Linked DNA regions of Homo sapiens: region 2 is linked to region 1. The links are contacts of gene promoters, found by promoter capture Hi-C in blood cells and fetal thymus (Javierre and others, 2016). All regions are on one chromosome and are shown on one strand. The core of a region is centred on a gene start or on the middle of the fragment in contact, and the rest is flanking DNA. Distances in the headings are between cores, read along the strand shown.

Region 1 (4,394 bases), core at 475-2,974:
AGAGGAGCCACTCAGTGTGGTGCATGTCACACTTATAGTTTAAGAGTCACATGGGTGACTATTAGGAAGGTGATATACATGCACATGGGTGCACACACACACACACACACATGTTCACAAGGAGGACTGTGAACACGTGGATTCACAGGGGTCATTCACACATATACTCACAGGGAGTTTTGTGCACACATATGCTCATACAGAGGGCCACAGCCACAGGTAATCATACATATTCACATGTGACGTTGAATTTACATGCCCATCCATTCAGCAGGTCACACAGCCTCAGACATTGAGGAGAGATAAACCCACACATGTGGGTTTGTGTCAAGGACTGTGCACCTATTCAACAGGAGGGTCCTATACATACACATGTATGTGTAGGGACATGCACACAAACCCATTGATATAGTGGGCCAGGCAATCATGTTCACAGAAGGGTCAAGTACATGTGTGCTCACACGCAGTTCTTGAACACACAACTACATCCATGCAGAGACAAGCACACATGCATACAGGGGTCCAGTTTTTGCCATAGGCTTGGAGGCTGCCAGTGTCCACTGGGGTGAGATGCAGAGCAGAACCCTGCCTCTGTTCCTGAAAGTCCCAATTCTAAGGCCCAATTTCAAGTGTGTGTTTGTGTGTGGGGGTGGTGAGGGGGTTGTGTGTGTGTGTGTGTGTGGTGATGGGGGAGGCTTCTGACCTTGGATGGGCAGATGGGATGGGTGCATGAGTCAAGGCCGCTCTACAAGGGAGGGAATGGGAAAGTAACTCAGGCAGGAGGAGGCCCCTAGCTTCAGCAAAGATGGAATGGAACGCATAATTTAGTACTCCTCCACCCCTATGTATATTGCGGTTCTAAAGGTGGGAGACGGGCTGGAGCTCTCAGCCCCCACTTAACCTGTGGGAGGGGGCGGGGCTAAGTGGGCGGGGCGGAGCATATCACCCCTCCCTTCAGTGGCGAAGTACGGGTTTAAGGTCTCCAGTCCACGCCCCACACTCCACCCCAAGTTCCACAGTTCGGGTTCTTCCCCAGGGCCAGCCCCCTGAACTCTGATCACCTTTCCTCTATTAGATCTTGGGGTGGAGGGAACTGGGGAGGAGAGACCCTTCAAACAGGATCAATGGAGGATCAGCAGGCTCTCGACCTTCATCCCAGATGTCCACCTGCCTAGTGTAGGCGGTATTTCCCTCTGCCTAGTAGGATGGCGGTCTCTCCTGGCTTGAGAGAGCCCCTCCCCCGGGACCCCCTCCCTCCAACATCCTGGACAGTCCGCGGTCCTCTCCCTTCGTCAGGTCTAACCTCAGTCTCTACTGCTGCAGCTCGAGGACAAGCTCTCCTTCGATCCCGCCGGACGCCGGGAGACGTGACCCAGATCCTGGGGAACACTGTTCGCCACGCGGCCCCCTCCCCGCGCTGGTCCCCGACTCCGTGGTGGCCGGTTTGCACCCCGCGCAGCCCGAGGCCTGGCCCGCGCCCCTCTAGAGCCGTCATGCAGGACCGGGGGACTTGGTGGTGAGAAAGGCCTGGCCCAGCTTGGAGGGTAGAATGGACGTGGGGGAGGCCTTGCCCGACCCCCGGCCCGCAGCCCCAGGCTCACGCCAGGGCGCCGCCCGCACTCCTCGCCTTGCTCACCTTTGCGCTCGGATCCGGGGCCATAGAGACAGCGACGCGCGGCTCCGCGGCCCCACAGCACCAGCTGCGAGAGGAAGGGGCCGCGGCTGGAGGCGGGGCGGGGGGGGGGTGGTGGAGGCGGAGCCGGGGGTGGGGCGGGGTCCTGAAAGGCGGGGCCGACTGGGTGGGGTGAGGGGAAGGTCGCCACTCTCTTCTTTGCGCCCCCTACTCTAGCACAATAGAGGCGGTTTGAGGGCGAGGCTCACACACAGCCTTCGGCCATCGGGCGACCCCCCACCTCTAGGCGCTGCGGCCCTGAAATCGCCCCCTGGTGGTGGCCTCGCCACCCCGTGCACCCTCCACATGCTTATAGCCCGTCCTCTCCTCCGCTGTAACCCTAGGACCCCCCTGACTTGCCTACTGCTGGGGACGTGCAAACCTGTCCTGGCGTTGCGGGGTTGGGGGACCCTCTCGGAGGGCCTTCTGGCCTGTCCTCTAACCTGGACCTCACTCCCTGTGCTCCTGCCACCCGCTTCTGCTCTCGGCCTAGGGTGTGGAGGGAAGGCTACCCTAGGTGGCGACTGGACGTTAGGGAAGCTCTGAACACAAGGTAGGGGCTTGATTCCCAGCTTCAGGGGCTGTTCAGCTTGAGCTATGCGTGGGGGAGATGGGGTCAGGCCTGAAGGGGATAAAGTAACAGCCTGACCTGAAAGGCACACAGAAAATGCTTTTTCTGGATAAATAAGCCACAAGCGTTTGCACCTGTTCACTCACCAAATCTTAACCCTAACCTAGGCTCACCTCAGGGACTGGGTCATTCAAACACTTGCCTTCCCCTCCAGCTCATCTTGGGCACCATTCTTATCCAGAACTTAGAGTGCACCCTTCTAGGCAATCAAGTACCCTATCCTTCCCAGATTCAATCACCTTACCCAGCAGCAATCTAGGAAACCCCTCACAATCAACTCCCCAACTCCTTTAACTCAACTAGGATGGTCCTTCTGTGCAAACTTGGTTCCTGCCTCCTTTAATAGGTCACAGCCTATTAAAGTGAACTTAGCCCCTATAGTCCAAACAAAACCTGCATTCAGGCCCTGACCCAGCCTGGTCCTTCCTCCTCCATCCATGACAGTATTCATGTGGGCTCAAGAGATGGACCAAAATGATAAAGGCCACAGGAACATATGTGATTGACTCTTGCATGTGCCTAGGAGTCAGAACAGGATTCAAGTGGCACATTTAACTAAAGGAAACTTGGGAAAGGCTTCATCCTTCTTTCTGGATTCCCCAAAGCTCACAGTTTGGCACTGAATCATATACAATCTCGTAGTTTGGATGGCTGTGTGTGACTGCAGACTGCTAGACAGCAGGGCCCACATCACAGTTCCACCTCCCCCAACACTCTGCAAATAGGATGTGTGTGGCGGGGAGAGGGAAGGTAGCTGGGGAGAAACACAATAAAAAATGTACACACACTTTTACAAAGAATATCCTGCTTCATTTTTTATTTGTACCCTCATCCCATCCTGAGGAATTTATAGCCCCATTTTATGGATGGGGAAACAGGCTCTAAGACATTAAGTAACTTGCCTTGAAGTTCATTCTTGTGTTTATGGAGAGGACAATCAAGACTGGAAAAGTCTGAGAAGGAGGAAGCAGGGTAAGCCAGAAGGGGAAATACCATTGGCAAAGGTAGAAATGTTCAAGCTTATGCACAGGCTTGTGTTGGGGAACTAAGGAAGGGGCATGAAAGAGGGCAGTGAGTTTGATTTGATGAAATGGCTGGGGGGGGGGGGGGGGCGGGGAGGGGTTCCTAGTGGGAAATAAAAGGGAAAAGTCAGCTAGTAGTTTGAAAAAGACCACAGAAGAAAATCCTGAAAGAGATGATGGACTGAGTAAGGACGTCTGAGGTGGGAAGACCAGTCAAGGCAGGGCTAAGAAAGATAAATCTGCAGTCCTTATCAAAAAGTGGGTTGGTGGTAACAGTGGAGGCAGGGTAGGAAGACTGCTGGTCCTTCAGTAGCAGATAGGAGAGCAATTAAACTGTAGGGGCCCAGGGGGCTAAGAGGCACAGCTTCCCAAATGTTCACAGAACCTGCAGTGCTGACTTCAGATAGCTCTGGAGGTGGCGAGTAGGCCAGTGTGGTAGGCTCAGTATCACTCAACTTCACTTTATGAACCAAGCTTTGCTCCTCTGAGGTGCTGATGGCAAACTCAGACATTGTTAAATGAGCAAAATGTGTGATTTCAATGATCACTGGGCAGTTACTTCAGTACTTTTGATAGCAGACCACAATCCATTTCCTTCTGCTAGCCTCCCAGTAAAATCTCTAAACCTAATGAGAGTATCAGATGTAAAAGCAATTAATGGAGCTGCCCATAGGAAGCCCTTTTGATTGACAGTATGTCTCTCTGCAAATCCAGCTGGTAAAATAAGAACGGGGGAATACTGACAGACAGTGGAAAAGAAAACTGGAAATCAACTAAAGAAATTAACCCTAACCCAGCCATAAATCTGCATCCTGGGACACAGGCAGGTCATTCTTTGAACAGGCTGTCACTCATCCATAAGGTCACTACCCTGGCTGCTTCGCAGGGTGGCTGTGAGAGGATTCCATTTGGAAACCTTCTGGAGAACTTCACACACACAGAAAAGTATGAGTTTTGTTTTTGCTAGTCTATTTTCCCCAACTTTGCTGTAAGAAAGTGGCTGAGGGTAGTGCTGGCCGTCTTCAGCAGTGATTGTCAGCCACTTACACACCAGAGTTTAGCTCCACTT
Region 2 (4,394 bases), core at 1,328-3,827, 420 kb after region 1:
CCCTGAGAGGGGTTCCCAGGAGTAGCTCCTAACAGAAAAGGAAATTCGACTTCCATGCTCCACCAGTTGCCCTGACTATTGAGGGTGTTGTGGCACATTACAACGGGGTCTGGCAGAGGAGCTGGCTTTAAGACGCAAGCCTATGTGTTTGCCCGTGCCCTGAGGTGGATCACAGGTAGTGAATGAGCTGCCTGGGCTTGACCCCATTTCATCTATTCAGCCAGGAAGCTCAGCAGGAATAAAGGATATGGCCTGGGCAGGGAGCATCATAGGGCCTGGAGGCTCTAGCCAGTTAGCCTCGGGCAGGCTGCAGTGAGACCTGGCCAACATATGATGGCTAAAATCCAAGTGTAAAAGCTTAGGATAGGTCAGGCAGTACTTCCCGGGGGCTCACACTGTACTGTCCCACTGGAAAAGGTAAGCAGTGGAGAACCTTGGTAAGTAGGGAGGCTGGCCAGTGTGGACACACACACACACACACACGGACACACACACACACACGCACGCACACACACACACACACCCAGAGGCTTGCACCCCTAGTGTGGATACGCACACACAGACACACACAAACAAACACACAGAGGCTTGCACCCCTAGAACCTAGAGAAGCCACAGCTAGGAGAACTCCCTTGGTACCCAGCATAGGGGCAAGAGCTGGTGCTGAAAGAGAGAAACTATATGTGTCTCTAATTTAGAACTTATGCACAATCATTGGTTCTTATGTCCCAAGGTCCTTTTATGTATGGCTTGAGCTTGTAGGCCCAGTTGGAACCCTATCTAATCCTCTCTCACAGGAAGGCTATATAGGCTCTCAAAGGCAAGCCTCCCCTCTCTTTCACCCCATTAGAGTCCCGGTAGCCATTCCCATACCGCCTAGAGCTTGACTACGCAAAAACTGTCAGGAGGCAGACTGACCTAATGGTCAGACTAGCTCTGGCCCTGCAGCCCAGATGCAGTGGGGAGTCCAAGAGCATCTCATCTCTCTCTCAGGCTGAGGCACTGAGGTTGCAGGAGATAGGGCTGAGAGCCGGAAGTGACAGCCTGACCCAGAAGGAACAGGGAACAGATACATACATGCGTGTGCATGCACACACACGCACACATTCCGAAGTTGACAGACTAACATACACACAGACATGATGACAACCAAAAGCTGGGACTCCACACACTGAATGCAGGACTTTAGGCGGGGGGCAGAGAGAGAAGGTGCTGGGGCACAAGAGGCAAGGGTATGAAGTCCCTCCAAATAGGAGTGGAGTGCCAACTGCCCTGCCTCGCTCCAAACACCTGACTCCTGGGCCATGGCAAGAGTCCAGTCCATTAAGTGCAGCGTGCAATACTAGCGCTTGGAGTCTCCTGTCCTCATCAATGAAGCGGTGTGGACGGGATAGCAGTCACCTGGCAGGAGGCCTTGACCCCTGGCAGGCTAGTTGTATCGGCCCTTGATCATTGTGTTCAACAAGGGCCCCACCTGTAAAGAAACATGAGGAGCCAATCAGAACTGGCTGTTCCCTGGCCCTGGAATTGGACAGGGTGTGTCTGGAGACATCAGATGTCCAGCCAAGGACAGAGACAATGTTTTCATACAATCTTGTGAATCCTCTAATCACCTATCTTCCTGAAGGTCAACCCAGTATTCTGGGACATAGTCTTTCCCTCAGGGGTCCATCTTGTACTATTATTCTTCTCTCGCACAACACCGTCTCTTACCGTAATCTGCCCCAAACGGACAGACATGGTCAGAGAAGCTAATAATCCCCGAACACCCAAGAGTGTCTATATGTTTCTCCAGAATGTTAACTGCCTCCATATCCTCAAAAAATGATCATCTGCAACTGGGGCTGATGCTATCTCCCAACACCACAGGTGTCTGTGGATGCTGAGGTTACCTCCAAGAGGCAAGCAAGAACCCTACAAATACAAACCTCCCCCATTTACCCAATGGGCCACTGGCACACCTGCATGGGAAGCAGGTCTCTCAACATTACCTACAGCAGCCCTGGCACAGCTGGGAAAGTGCAAGGAGATGTGTTAGTGCTCGCTTCCTGTTCCAGAAGAATCCCCTCAGGGGGTCCCCAGATGGTACATAATACCCATGGGGAACATTACTACTAGCATGGAACTAATTATAATTGATCTGCCAGTCAAGCCCAGCTATCACCAGAAAACAAGAATTTTTCTGAACATACCCATAACCTCTATGGAGAGAGAGGACACCAGACACTGAAACACAGAAGCTGTAAAGAATGTCGCTCTGATCCTGACTTTCCTTGGTCAACCCACCCACTGAGCCACCTTGGGGCAGTCACCTACCTCTTGTGGGTTCCCCAAGGCCTCTCCAAGCATCTTCTCAATGTTTCTCATTATGGCCACTTTCTGATGAGCTTTGAGAGGATATTCAATTCTCTTAGGGGTGGGAGCCCCCTACAAAGGAAGCAGTAGCTCAGGAAATGCCTTTAGCAGCAGGCGTCAGTGTCACTCTACTGTTCTTAGTACCATCCTCCCTTCTAAGAAACCCAATTCTTGCCGGGCACGGTGACTCAGGCCTATAATCCCAGCACTTTGGGAGGCCGAGGCGGGTGGATCACTTGAGGTCAGGAGTTTGAGACCAGCCTGGCCAACATGGTGAAACCCCATCTCTACTAAAGATACAAAAATTAGCCAGGCATGGTGGTGTGTGCCTATAATCCCAACTACTCGGGAGGCTGAGGCAGGAGAATCACTTGAACCCGGGAGGCAGAAGTTGCAGTGAGCCGAGATCACGCCACTGCACTCCAGCCTGGGGAATAGAGCAAGACTCTGTCTCAAAAAATATATTTAAAAAAAAGAAACCCAATTCAATCCTGTCCCTTTCATCTCCCCAGACACCTGACAATCACTTCCAGGGATAGTCAACCATCCCATCCAAAATCATTTATTATACCTACCTCACCCAAGAGCCAGTTCCATCTGGAAAAAACAAAAAAAGCAAACCATATTCACCTTATACCAGAAGTTCACAGTGATGGTAATCCCCCCATTTAGTAATGACTCTATGTGATGCCACCTGCAAGAAAACAAACAGGCTCCTGTTTACTACTGATACTTTTGGCGGGGGCGGAGGGGCGAAGTGCGGGGGGGTGGCAGGGTTGGGCTGAAAAACTAGGTGGAGTCCAGTTACGGAAAATAGTGAAGACAATATCTTTACACTCATCCTGTGAAAAAAACACACACTTGGGGGTTAGAGGTACTGGTGTTCAGTCTCGAAATACCAAAGAGCCAAGAACAGTTTTTCTAGGCTCAAGCCTCCGGAATCTCTTTGGACTTGAAGAACCGTCATCCTGTCCTAGAGACAGGGCTATCATTCCCGCCACTATCCCCCACAGGTTCAGTACGCTCATGTCTGGATATGCCAACCTTCCTATAGACCACATAAAACCAATCATGCCATAACTCAGAAGCGACACAGACAAGGCTTTCCAGGGAATGGAAAAGAAAGCTCCCAAAAAGCCCCCAGCCCTAGCCCCCTTCTCACCAGTACATTGGGATGTAAAGAACATCACCAGGGCCAACCACTGTTTCGTAACCAACCACATTTTGGAAATTAGGGAACCTCTCGTAGTCGGGATTGTCAAAGTCCACCTAAGAGGTTCAAGAGAAAGAAAAAAAATATCAATCACCAAATCTTCACCAGTAAAACTACTATATGCCAGTTTGGCAGTAAAAACAAACAAACAAACAAAAAAAAAACGATGCCTTAAAAAAAGTATTTGGAATTTATATCCAGCAGAAGATATAATGCACATTAAACCCTGAGAGAGAACAATATAAGACAGTCCACATTTGAATGTTAAGTGATAAAGAATCCTAGGCTTCAGTGCTCCTGAGGTCAGACGACCTACTCCACAGCTGAGGATATGAGGAATTAGGAATTATCCTCCACCTAAACCTTCAGAAACTTTTCCCAAAAACATATTCTAACCAGCAAAGACTCCCACATGAAGTAGCTAGACAGCTTTCTGAAGAAAGGAAAGGATATCTTTGGCTGGCCACAGTTAACCACATACCTCATTTAGATCTAGGAAATACATTAAACAACATAGCTCAGTTTTATTCACCCTTCTTATCAAAAAGAAATAGCATCCATGACAAAAGCAAACAATGATTAAATCCAATGGAGACATACACATTTTGTTCCATAAACTTATAAGCCAATCAAACAGAGTAACCAGAGTCCATCAGCATCAATGACAGTGTCTGTCCTGAGAATTAGCTCTGTGGGGCTAGTTATACTTACAAACATCTGGTGGCCACTCCAGGGAGCCTGGAATATGTGAGCTACAATGAAATTACCCTCTTGGTGTGTTAAGGCAAGAACAGCCTGTAATCCGAACCTGGCATATCACTACGGG

Evidence for each region. Contacts are between HindIII fragments. The CHiCAGO score rates a contact against its expected background, and 5 or more counts as called.
Region 2: a fragment that was not itself captured here is called in contact with the fragment with the promoter of SEMA4G in region 1 in 1 of 17 cell types (M1 macrophages); the score reaches 5.1 in M1 macrophages.

What each region holds. Positions count from the first base shown.
Region 1 is chr10:100,966,834-100,971,227 of GRCh38, reverse strand. SEMA4G (semaphorin 4G) reads right to left here and starts at 1,724. Exons shown (of 15, transcript NM_017893.4): 1 at 1,637-1,724. RefSeq lists a silencer at 1,708-1,767. The HindIII fragment of the contact is 3,455 bases long and covers 1-3,324 here.
Region 2 is chr10:100,545,173-100,549,566 of GRCh38, reverse strand. It overlaps HIF1AN (hypoxia inducible factor 1 subunit alpha inhibitor), which reads right to left. Exons shown (of 8, transcript NM_017902.3): 5 at 3,518-3,624; 6 at 2,986-3,049; 7 at 2,317-2,427; 8 at 1-1,474. The coding sequence ends at 1,430. Among named protein-coding and RNA genes, the nearest start is that of HIF1AN, 11 kb to the right of the region's middle. The HindIII fragment of the contact is 4,435 bases long and covers 360-4,394 here.